Linked DNA regions of Homo sapiens: regions 1 and 2 are each linked to region 3. The links are contacts of gene promoters, found by promoter capture Hi-C in human tissues and cell types (Jung and others, 2019). All regions are on one chromosome and are shown on one strand. Each heading gives the region's core, a stretch centred on a gene start or on the middle of the fragment in contact. The rest is flanking DNA. Distances are from core to core; before and after follow the strand shown. Region 1 has its middle 23 kb from the start of EPB41L4A-AS1. Region 2 holds the start of NREP (neuronal regeneration related protein). Region 3 holds the start of CAMK4 (calcium/calmodulin dependent protein kinase IV).

Region 1 (3,824 bases), core at 392-2,891, 910 kb before region 3:
GTCTGCTGTTTTGCTCATGATTAGACGAGGCTGTGGGTTATGGGAGAGAGTATCACAGAGGTGAAGTGCCCTTCTCATCACATCATATTAGAGAATATAGTATACCTATCCACATGACTTATCACTGGTGATGTTAATCTTGACCACTTAGATAAGGTAGAGTTTTCCAGTTTTTCTTACAGGAAAGTGACTATAGGTTGAGCTTTCCCTAATCCAAACATTCAAGATTCAAAACACTTCAATATTTGAAATTTTTGAATGCCAATATGATGCCACAAGTGAAAAATTTCATATCTGTCCTTATGTGCTAGGTCCCGGTCAAAATGCAATCACATCACACACAGTTTATTCAGCATCCCAAAGGGAAGAAAGAGACTTGAGCCCTCTTCAGCTGCAATATATATTTTCTGTACATGCCCAGTTTCCTCCATGCAAGCACACAAAAGAAGTGTAATAAAATGGCACATGTGCAGGCCAGACATGCCATTGGCAGGTTCCCCCCAATGCCCTATGTGAGGCCAAGATTTATGTGCATTCCTTACTGTGTTTTTTTTGCTTATTCTATGCTCTGTGGTGTGAAGATATTGTTGAAAATGTCAAAAAAAAAAAAAAAAAACCGCCTGTTTATACCCCTTGGGCAACAGTGGTAAGGAAAAGAGAAAGCATTTTTACTTATCCATAGCACAGAAAGTCAAGCTGTTGAAGAGACCAGGTAGCAGTATAAGTGTGAAACATTTTACAGAAGGGTATAGTATTGCAATGACCACCACATATGACCTAAGAAACAGAAGGATAAACTGTTGAAGATCTATGTGGAAAGTGGTGGACAGAAGTTAATGAGAAATAGAAAAACACTGCATAAAGCTGAACATGAAGATCTTGATCATGTGTGAACAGAGTGAATCCATCAGCACTGCAGTGAACATGTGCCACTTAGCGGTATGGTAATCAGGAAACAAGCAAAGATCTATCACAACGAACTGCAAGTTGAAAGGAACTGTAAATATTCAACAGGCTGGTTGCAGAAATTTAAGACATTGAAGAAAAGACTTGGCATTAAAGATTTGTGGTAATAAAACATCTGCTGCTCATGAAGCAGTGGAGAAATTCATTGACGAGTTTCCAAAGGTTGTTGCTGATGAAAATCTAATACTAGGACAAATCTATAATGCTGATGAAACATCACTGTTTTGATGTTATTGACCCAGAAAGACAACGACTACAGCTGATGAGAAAGCCCCTAGAGGAATGAAAGATACCATGAACAGAATATCTGTGCTCGGATGTGTTAATGCAGCACACACACATAAATGTACACTTGCTGTGTAGGCAAAAGCTTGTGTCCTTGCTGTTTGCAAGGAGTCAATTTCTTACTAGTTCATTATTATGCTAACCAAAAGCCTGGATCATCAGGGACATCTTTTCTCATTGGTTACACAAACAATTTGTACCAGTGGCTGAAGCTCACTGTAGGGAAGCTGGACTGGATGTTGACTGCCAGTATTATTCCTTGACAACTGTTCTGCTCAGCTTTCAGCTAAAATTTTCATCAAAAGTAATGTTGTTTATGCCATGTACTTTTCTCCAAATGTAATTTATTAATTCAACCATATGACCAGGGCATCCTTAGATCAATGAAAAATACATTTCTTGAACAGCATAGTAGCGTGGTGAACAGAGGCAAGTGTGTGAAGGTTTTCAAAAACAGTTTAGCATGAAGGATGCTGTCCATATATGCTGTTACCAACACTTTGAACAAAGTGACTAAAGACACAGTTGTATATGCCTGGCGCAACCTCTGGCCTGTGACTACGTTTAGTGGTGGTGGAGAACAATGTGACAACTTTGAAAAATTCTGTATGTCAAATAAGAAAAAATGATCTCTGAACTCTTTACATATGCAAAAAAATACCTTCAGAGTCCATCAGCAAGCTGGAAGAAGTGGATATCAAAGTTTTTAATATTGATTGTGAGGCTCCAGTTGTTCACTCATTGACTATAGCCAAAATGGTTCTGAATGAAAGTGATTGTGATAATAGTGTTGATGAAGATGATGTTGTTAACACTGCAGAAAAGTGCCTATAGACATGGTGAAAATGCATGTTGGGCTTACTGAAGGACTAGAGCAATCTGCACTCATTGCAGAATAAGAAATCATGTCAGTTTATAAAATTAAAGACAGACTTTTAAGACAAAAACTGTTGTCAATGAGGCAGATGACTTTGGAGGAAACATTTTTTTTTTCTTTTTTTTTTTTTTGAGACAGAGTCTTGCTCTGTTGCCCAGGCTGGATTGCAATGGCACCATCTCGGCTCACTGCAAGCTCCACCTCCCAGGTTCCAGCGATTCTCCTGCCTCAGCCTCCCGAGTAGCTGGACCTACAGGCTCCTGCCACCATGCCCAGCTAATTTTTGTATTTTTAGTAGAGACAGGGTTTCACCATATTGGCCAGGCTGGTCTCGAACTCCTGACCTCATGATCTGTATGCCTTGGCCTCCCAAAGTGCTGGGATTATAGGTGTGAGCCCCCGCATCCGGCCTGGAGGAAACATTTTTAAAAGCCATTCGGCAGAATGCTTCCTTCTCCCCAGAGGACCCACTTCCTGGTCTGTCAGCTACTTCAGATGTTTCTTCTCACCAAAAAAAAAAAAAAAAAAAAGTGCACAGTAACCTTTTAATCAAAACACAGCATCATGGGTGGAGATTGAAAGCCTGCCGATGTTTGTTGTTGCTGTTGTTTAACAGAGGATACGGGTATTCTGTTGATGCTACTGTGCTGCTTAGTTATTGTGAACTCATTATGTTTTATGCTGTATTAATGTTATATCATTTTTTTACTGTTAAGTACTATGTGAATAAGTGTGAGAAAATGTTTGCTTATTGGTGGCATATAAATTTAGAGTCAGGGGTGATGATGCCAAACAACCACAGATCGTCTACATGGATGGCTGAGGTAGTGACACCTTCGCTTTCTGATGGTTCAATGTACACAAACTTTGTTTCATGCACGAAAATACTAAAAATATTGTACAAAGTTGCCTTCACGCTACGTTTATAATGTACACATAAAACACAAATGAATTTGTGTTTAGATTTAAGTCCCATCTGCAAGATATCTCATTATGTATATGCAAATATTCTAAAATCTTGAAAAAATCTGAAATCTGAAACGCTTCAGATTCCGAAGCATTTCAGATAAAGGATACTCAACCTGTATTTTCCTTTTACATACTCAATTCTTTGGAAGCCAGTCTTTAAGCCCAGCACATACTGTAGGAGCTAGGAGGTTAAGCTACATGTCCTTTGTGAGAGGGTGTGTGGGGAAAATATCCACATATATTATTTACAATTTGTCTGTAAAAAAAGGTGTCTTTCTTTTTTTCCTCCGTCCCTCCCTTACGCTCTATCTCCCTCCCTCCCTCCCCACCTCTCTCTTCCTTCTTTCTACACTTCTTTTCTTTAATCATTTATTTGTATCAATATTAGTCAATATTGATACATTTATATCAATATTGATGCAGTCCATAATCTAATTCTGCATTACAATCTAGTCCAACATTATCTTGTTGCCCAAATTGTTCTATCATTTTTGCCACTTATTTTTTTTAAAAAAATTACATTGTATAGTATTGGCTTAAGATTTTTTTGTTCCCTAGCCTATTAGTTATCTATTTCTGTGTAACAAATTACTCCAAAACTTAGTGATGTAAAAAATAAACATTATCATGTCATAGTTTTAATGGATGAGGAATCTGGATGTGGCTTAACTGGGTGCTTCTGGCCCCTCACAAGGCTGAAATCTAGTTGTCAGTAGGATCCTCAATT
Region 2 (4,181 bases), core at 287-2,786, 540 kb before region 3:
GAGCTGGCTCTAACCACTTTTCTACTAACCTTTCACCTGGAACTCAGACTCATGGAACTGGTTACCCCAAGCAATGACATTGACCAAAAATTAATAAAGTTGCAGGAATATATAGATTTGAGATACATTTAGCTATAATCAGGAAATACTTGAGAATGACATATCTAAGGGAGAAGAAAAATCCTGTGTCTAAAGTACATCCTTTTCTACTGAGCAAATCCTGTGAGGGACTATTCTTTGGCATACTTGCCAGGGACAGAACCCAAGAATCAGGTTCTGACCCAGGGTTTTTATTTTCTTATACCATCTGGATGTCATCAGTCATCAGTCAAATTTCTTAGCTCATGATCTGCCCCTGCCTCTGCTCAGAAGGCCCCTTTCCTCCTTCAACTTGCTGACTCTTTCTCATTCTTCACAAATTCAGTTTAGGCCTCACCTCCCTTAGCAAACTTTCTTTGAACTGCTGGTCTGATTTAGAAAGGAGCCCTGGCATCCACAGTGAAACCTGTGCAAGAACTCTACAATCATCCTTATCACACTGCACCTTCACTTTGGCTTTGGCTGTCTCTTTACCCCTTCACCCCAGACGACAAATTCCATGAAGATAAGGACATCGCCTACTTCCCTTTCCTCCTCCCTACGAAAATCCTGATTTGGGTCAGGTCTCTGTCCCTCTTCAATGCAGTGCACATAACTCAAGGGAGGCTACCTCTTTCCACCTCAGGAGATGGATCTGATTGTTAGAGCTAGTGGTTCTCAATCAAGGATGAGTCTCCCTGACCCCTTGGAACATTTGGTAGTGTCTGGATACATATCTGGTTGTGACAACTGGCGTTTCCTACAGGCATCTGATGGGTAGAGGCCAGAGATGTTGTTAAACATTATACTATGCACAGGACAGCCTCACCCTCCATCCTCACCCCGTCAAAAAATTATCTTGTCCCAAATGTCAATATAACTGAAGGGTTGAGACATCTTAGCTGAAGTCAATCTTTGCGTGACTTTGCTTCCTGACTGGTAATGGCTTAGGGATAATTATGTGCCCTAAATGATCAATCAGAGTGAAGTGAAGGACTGATATTCTATGATTGAGAGAGAGATGATAAGGTTAGAAAGTCAGACTATAGTCACACTGTGGCAAAATATGGCCTTTATCCCGTAATGGAGCAGGGGATACCATGATTAAAAAGAAATTTTAGAAGAGTGGGTCTACTGTAACACCTACAGGATAGATGGAAGAGGGCAGAACATGGCAGCTAGGAGGACTGTGAGACAGCTATAGCTACAGTTTGAGTGAGGTGACATGGCATGAGTTTCTCATATATCCTTAAGTGATTAGCACAGCCCCCTTCACCTAGAGGAGACTCAAGAATGTTTCTTGGATAGTTGGATGATAACCGTTTTCTGGAACACAACAGATAAATAAGCTATGAATCTGACCCAGTGTTCTTAATACTTAAAAATCTGTCACCTGAATGTCTATCATTACAATGAAGAAAAATTGGCCAAGAGAGGTGGCTTGTGCCTGTAATCCCAGCACTTTGGGAGGCCGTAGTGAGGATTGCCTGAATCCAGGAGTTTGAGACCGGGCAACATGGTAACATGGTAAGTCTCCATTTCTTAAAAAAAAAAAAAGAAAGAAAGAAAGAAAGAAAAATTAACACTTCTCTGTGAAAGAACATCTTAGGGAAGTTTTACATAAACGTTAAAGTCCCTGTGTATGTATGTGTTTATATGTATGTTTCCTTGTAGAAGCAGCTTTTGAACAAATATCACTGGGATAGATTTTTGGTAGTCTGATTTGATGGTGCGCCCTTGGGGTCCTTTCCCAGCCTGACCCTGAGGTGAATGCCAAAGATCTCAATGTTGAGGTGCCCTTGAGCAGCGTGTTGGGGTTCCAGACTTGCAGATCAGCCCCCAGGCGTCTCCCCTCTCCCACCACCCAGCCTATGCCTTACACCTTCCTTCCAGTACTTCCCTGGCTGGTAAACTGGCCTGAAAGGGTCAAGGGAATTTGTTGAGTTTTATATTTCTTCCCTTTGTTCCTAGCTATGGCTGCCAAATCATCTTATTTTTGCAGGAAAATTACTGTGATGTTTTAGATTAATTCAGAGAAGCTTTCAGTGGGCTCCTTAAACATCATACCCAGTGCAGTCTAACAGGCATTTGTTGTGGCAATGGCTTTGTAGTTTTAAAGGTGACCTATAGTCCCAGCAACAAGCATACAGAGAACTCAGTGCATTCTTTTAGAATTGTGAGTGTAAAGTATTGCTTTTTAAGGTTTGCTATTGCTGTACCCAGTATGTTAAATCTAAAACATCAGACATTCTGTAAACACGTTTAAAAATTGAGTTTTGTAAATTTGCCTTATTTTCTTTGTTACAATGGAAAACATTGCTTTCAGTGATTAGGGGAAAAAGTGGATGGCAAATTTAGAAGACACTATGATCCTTTATATCTTTTTTTCTTGGAAAGGCAATTTAATTAGGAAATAATCTTCTCCTGTGACATCTGAGAGTTACCATAAAATGATATCCTGCTTTATTGGCAACAGAACCAGTTTATTTGAGTTTGTTGCAAAATTTTGAGCTATTACATTACTATGAAAAGATAGATTTTAAATAAGAACGACGAGTTTACAAAAATCAGAAATGGCAAAGCACTTTATTTTTTAAAGCAATCCTCGATTTTAAAAAGTACAATTTCAGACGGGCAGGCAGTGGGGGAGCGTATAGGGAAGGAGAAGGAAGCACCAGGGGAGTATGTCTTGGGCCGATCACGCCAGGCCGCAGCTCTGGCTGGTTGTGCGCGTGTGACTGTGTGCACGTGTGTGTGTGCACGCGCAGCCACAGGACCTCTGGGCCCGGCCTTCAGGGGCGCTCCCCGCCCCGGGCTTCCCCGCGGAAGGGAGTGGGGCGCGCGTACCCAGCTGAGGGGCAGGGTCCGACCCGAGGCCGTGTGCAAATGCATCCTTCGCGGACTCTTTGTGTGTCTGAGCGCGGCTCCGCGCCGCCGCAGGCACCATTTTCTGCTTCGCTCAGGACAGGCACATAAAAGGAAGGCGGCTGCCGCCCGTCGCCGTCCTCTTTTCCTCAGATGCCCTCTGCTGCAGGTTTATTATTACAGTACGGGCCGCGCCGCCTCTCCCCACGGCCCTGGCGGGCCGCCGGGCTGTGCAGCACCCTGGCCGCCTTCACGCTTGGCGCGCCCCCAAACCGCCTCCTCCACCTCCTTATTTGTCTGAAAAGCAACCGCACGTCGAGGCGGAGAGGCTGGCCGGGGGCGGGGAGGAAGGCCGGGGATTTGCGCGCGCCGTGCTCCCGGGGCGGGGCCGGGGCGCAGAGCTGCGGGTCCGCTTTGTCTCCCCGGGGCGCCGCGCGGTGCAGTGGGGACGGCGCGGCGAGCGGGGCGCCCGGGGCGCGGGTGCGGGGTGTCGGGGCGCGCGCGCCTGTTGGCCGCTCGCCGACGGGGCCCAGAGCCGCCGATTCCTGCCGAGTAAGCAGTCTGGCTCCTAGGCGGCTGCACAGTGGCAGCAAGGCTGGGGCGCTGGCTCCGCGCCAGCTCCATCAGAATTAGCTCATTGTTCACTAGCACCCTAGCGGGAGAGAGAGGGAAAGGGAGAGAGAGAGACTCTTAGAGAAAGAGAGAGACACACACACTCTTGGAGAGAGAGCGCGAGGCAGGGAGATGATCTCCTCCTCCTTTTTCCAAGGCTGCACTTCTTGGAAGTGAAGCCGGTTTGGGTTTTGTTTCCCTTCCCCCTCCTCCCTCCTCTTCCTCCACCCCTTTCCCCTCCCCCTCCCTCCCCCAATCCCCCCTCCCCCCCCAATCTGTCTTTCTAGCATGTTGCCCTTTTTCAACCACATTTGTGTTTCAGGTGTAGAGAGGAGAGAGAGTGAACAGGGAGCGGGGCTTTTGTCTGTAAGTATATGCCATTCCTATCCCCGGCTGGGAGCGCTGGTTTCTCTTTTGTGTCGATTCCTTGCCGTTGCTCTTAGCTGGACCCTTCAACCCTGCAGAGTTCATGCTTCTTCCCTCTAAATTTTAAAGAGCTGAAGCGTGTACCTTGGAGAAATTCTGGCATTTTGGTTGTGCTGCATTCAGGCTGGAATTTAACTTGGGTTTTTTCTAAAATGCACAAGTTCGGAGGGAGAAATGAATTCTTTTGGGAAGGGGTGGGG
Region 3 (4,105 bases), core at 188-2,687:
TCATTCAGAAGTTTGCCTATTTTACACATCTATATTCAATGAGCCTTCAATAGTACTAGCAAAGTGGGGGGAGAGTGGGCAGTGATCATTACATCTTCCCACTAAATACCAACATCCAGAATCCTGCTCTGGATCCTCCAATGACTTGAAAAAATAAAAAGGCTGTTAGCAATACTATTTCCAGCAAAAAGAGAATGAAAAATGAAATTGCAAAGGAGTAGTAAGTACAGAAGCTGCAACTTGTCAACCGTTGAAATTACATCTTCAGATTCCCTATACTAAAGAGCCTGGATCTAAAATAAGTGTTGAAAATAAATCTCCTTACCTATGGATAACAGAGAGAAAAGACAAAAAAAAAGGAAGTAAGGGAAAGAAAACTATAATTTTCAATGGATACAAATACGAAAGCATATGGAATCATGCAGAAGGCCAAACTGCTACCTGTTTGGATCTTCAGAGGAGGGATAGGGGACATATCTGCAATCCTAGGGAGATGGTCTGTTGCATATATAATTTAAATAAATCACTCCAGCCCATGAAAGAAGGGAAGCAGCAGCATTCTCACTAATTACCACTGCCTGGATCCCATATGCTGCTTTCTCTTTAAAGCCACACTAGTTCATTATTCTGCCTTCAACTCTCTTAAATGATTCATTTCTCCCTTCACTCCTGAGCAGACTCTGCAGGGAAGCTAGTATTTAAGTTTAATTTCTCGTGTCACTTGCTTTGGAGAGCTTGACGAGGGGAAGGAGGAGGAATCTAACTTAATAATTCTGTCTTGATTTGGAGGGGCACCCTCCGGCCCCCACCCTAAACAATAACTAGACAAACAGGACCCTCTGGCAAGCTATAATCGTGAGCAAAGATATCAATTGGGAAAGCAGGGCCCACGTGCGGTGGGAGCTGTCACCCAAGGGAAGTGGCAGCCTGCGAGAAGGAGGGAAGGTGGGAGGGAGTCGGGCTGATCCTACAGCTGCACCGGCCTAGGCGCTCTGGTGGGGTGGGAAGGACTCGAGCCGCACCTGAATGAAGGTTAGCTCTCTCTCAAGACACTAACTAGGTAGGGAGAAATCGAAGGGCACGAAGGCAGGCTCCCGCACCCTCCGAGCCGTCGCTGCGAGAGGGACAACCCCCAGTGCACGCCGCGGGCTTCCCCAGCCGGAGCCCGCGCCTTACCGTCCCAGCTCCGACTCCACCTCGAAGAAATCGCTCAGCGCATCCCTGTTGGAGCCGTCGATCCAGTAATCCGGGACGAGGCTCGCGGTCCCCGGGGCCGCACTGGCGGTGACCGAAGAGCAGGACGAGGCGGAGCAGGAGGGCACCGTGACTTTGAGCATCTTCGCAGCGGGACTCCGGAAGCCGCCGCCGCCGCCGCCGCCGCTGCCCGAGCGAGAAGCCGGCCGCCAGCCGCCGCCTGCGAACGCAGGAGCGAGAGAGAGGCGGCGTCCTTCACGCGCGCACACGCCCACCGCCGCCGCCCGCGCTCGCAGGGACGGTGGGCGGGGAAGGGGGCGAGCCTCTGCGAGAGGGCGCGAGGGGGAACCCGGAGTCGCCGCCCGCTGGAGGGAGACTAGCTGCACCGCTGAGGAGAGAGGCTCCCTCCCCCTCGCTCCTTCCCTCCTCACCCGCCCTCCTCCCGCGCCGAGCCTTTCCCGCCGCCCTCCCTCTTTCCTTTCTCTCTCCCAGGCTGTGGCTGCCGCGGTGCCGGCTAGGGCGGCTCCGGATGCTGGAGCTTGGGGAAGGCACAAGGACCCGCGCATCATCCCACGCGCCCTCCCGCGGGGACCGGAGCTGGAGGGAGACCGTGCGCAGCGGGACGCTGCTCTGGGATGGCGGGCGCCAGGCGTACCCTGGCAGCACCTGGGTCCGGGCGGCCCCGCCGGATAGCGAGAGAGGGACCTAGGTGGTGGTGGCGCAACTCATCCCTCCTTGAGCGCGTCTCCGTGGCGAGTCCCTCCCACCTAACACCAGCTAACCAGCCATCCTCTGTCAAAGCTTATATTGGTGGCCGGGGAGGGAGTACTGTGGTCGCCGATCCCTCAGGGCTCCTGTGCCTGGACCCAGTGAGAGCTGGAGGAAAAGGAAGCGCCCAGGTCCACACTGACCTGACTCACCTTTGAGTGAAGTCTTCAGTTGGAATAAATGCTGTCGTCGCTGCTGGTGGCACTGCCTCCTCGGCACTGCTGGAGCTCCTAAAAGAGGAGATACTTGGCTGTGTCGAGTTCAATCTCAGCATCTGAAGTGGCTCAGAATTACAGTTCTAGAAGGGCCTTGTGGAAGCCAACTAGTAAACCCTCTGCCTTAAGGCAGGACCTGTCCTCATTCATGACAGGGAAGACTGCTACATGTAAAAGCCCTTTTTCTCTTCCCAAGAGATGTATCCCATGATAAGCATTCTTATGTCCTGTCCATCAGCTGTCATGGCTCTTCTTCTCAGTATTAAACATACATCACTTAAACTACCCTTGAACTTTTTTCTTTTCAGATTTCAGCAAAGACGAACAACAATTAGTCATGTTCTGATACATATCTATGACAGTTATTATACCACAACTCATTTCTGGCTAAATAGCTCCAGGCGCTTTCACCTTACTTCACAGGTGTTACTTTTGGCCTTTTTTTTTTCCTGAGTTTCCTCCAACATGCGCTAAACTCTTCCTAGTAAGTCTCCATTCCTGATAGCACCAACCATTAATATGGTCCAATATTTTAATCTAATTTATGGATTTATTATTCTTAAAAGCCTGCCTGCTATACTGGTGAACAAACAACCAAAAATATCCAATCAAGTAGTTACAGGAATGTGATTCCTAGCTGATTGGAAATTGAAAATATATATAGTCATGCATCCCTCAACCACGGTGAGAAGTTGAAGAGATGCATCCTTAGGCGATGCAGTTGTAAGAACATCATAGGGTGTACTTGTACACAACCAGATAGTATAGCTTACTACACAGCTATGCTGGATGGAATAGTCAATTGCTCCTAGGCTTCAAACCTGTACAGCATTTTACTATACTGAATACTACAGGCCAGCGGTCCCCAACCTTTTCGGCACCAGGGACCAGTTTCTTGGAAGATAATTTTTTCCACAGACAGGGGGTGGGGAAGATGGTTCTGGGATGATTCAAGTGCATTACATTTATTGTGCACTTTAATTCTATTATTATTACATTGCAATACATAGTGAAATAATTATACAACTCACCGTAATATAGAATCAGTGGAAGACCTGAGCTTGTTTTCCTACAACTAGACGGTCCTATCTGGGGGTGATGGGAGACAGTGATAGATCATCAGGCAGTAGATTCTTATAAGGAGTGCACAACCTAGATCCCTTGCATGTGCAGTTCACAATAGGGTTCATGCTCTTACGGGAATCTAATGCTACCACTGATCTGACAGGAGGCAGAGTTCAGGCAGTAATGTGGGAGATGGAGAGCCCCTGTAAATATAGATGAAGCTTTGCTTGCTTGCCTGCAGCTCACCTCCTGCTGTGTGGCCCAGTTCCTAACAGGCCACAGACCAGCCCATGGCCTGGGGGTTGGGAACTCTGCTGTAGGCAACTGTAACACAACAATAAGTATTTGTGTATTTAAACATATCTAAACATAGGAAAGGTACAATAAAAATATGGTATAAAAGGTAAAAAATGGTACACCTGTATAGGGCACTTACCATGAATGCAGCTTGCAGGACTAAAAGTTGCTCCGTGTGAGTGAGTAAGTGGTGAGTGGATATGAAGGCCTAGGACATTACACTACTTAGACTTTATACATACTGTATGCTTAGGCTACACTAAATTTATTTAGAATAGTTTCTTTCTTCAATGGTAAATTAACCTTAGTTTACTGTAACTTTTACTTTATAAACTTTTTAATGTTTTAAAACTTTTTGACTCCTTTATAGTAATGCTTAGCTGAAACACAAATACAAGGTATTTTATACAAAATATATTGTAAAGCTGCACAAAAATGTTTTCTATGTATCCTTATTCTATAAGCTTTCTTCTTTTTAAAACAACTTTTTTAACTTTTTGAACTTTGTTAAAAACTAAAACATACACACACACTAGCCTAGGCCTACACAGAGACAGGCATCGATA

What was found. Contacts are between HindIII fragments. The study calls those that stand out against the background at their distance.
Region 1: a fragment that was not itself captured here is called in contact with the fragment with the promoter of CAMK4 in region 3 in 1 of the 25 tissues and cell types used here (mesenchymal stem cells).
Region 2: a fragment that was not itself captured here is called in contact with the fragment with the promoter of CAMK4 in region 3 in 1 of the 25 tissues and cell types used here (dorsolateral prefrontal cortex).

What each region holds. Positions count from the first base shown.
Region 1 is chr5:112,135,807-112,139,630 of GRCh38, reverse strand. No RefSeq gene overlaps it. Among named protein-coding and RNA genes, the nearest start is that of EPB41L4A-AS1, 23 kb to the left of the region's middle. The HindIII fragment of the contact is 3,115 bases long and covers 84-3,198 here.
Region 2 is chr5:111,756,876-111,761,056 of GRCh38, reverse strand. NREP (neuronal regeneration related protein) reads left to right here and starts at 3,863. Exons shown (of 4, transcript NM_004772.4): 1 at 3,863-3,921. RefSeq lists silencers at 2,733-3,092, 3,113-3,512 and an enhancer at 4,106-4,181. The HindIII fragment of the contact is 7,107 bases long and covers 1-4,181 here.
Region 3 is chr5:111,221,716-111,225,820 of GRCh38, reverse strand. CAMK4 (calcium/calmodulin dependent protein kinase IV) reads right to left here and starts at 1,437. Exons shown (of 11, transcript NM_001744.6): 1 at 1,177-1,437. The coding sequence starts at 1,337. RefSeq lists enhancers at 1,199-1,248, 2,209-2,308 and a silencer at 1,359-1,848. The HindIII fragment of the contact is 2,937 bases long and covers 797-3,733 here.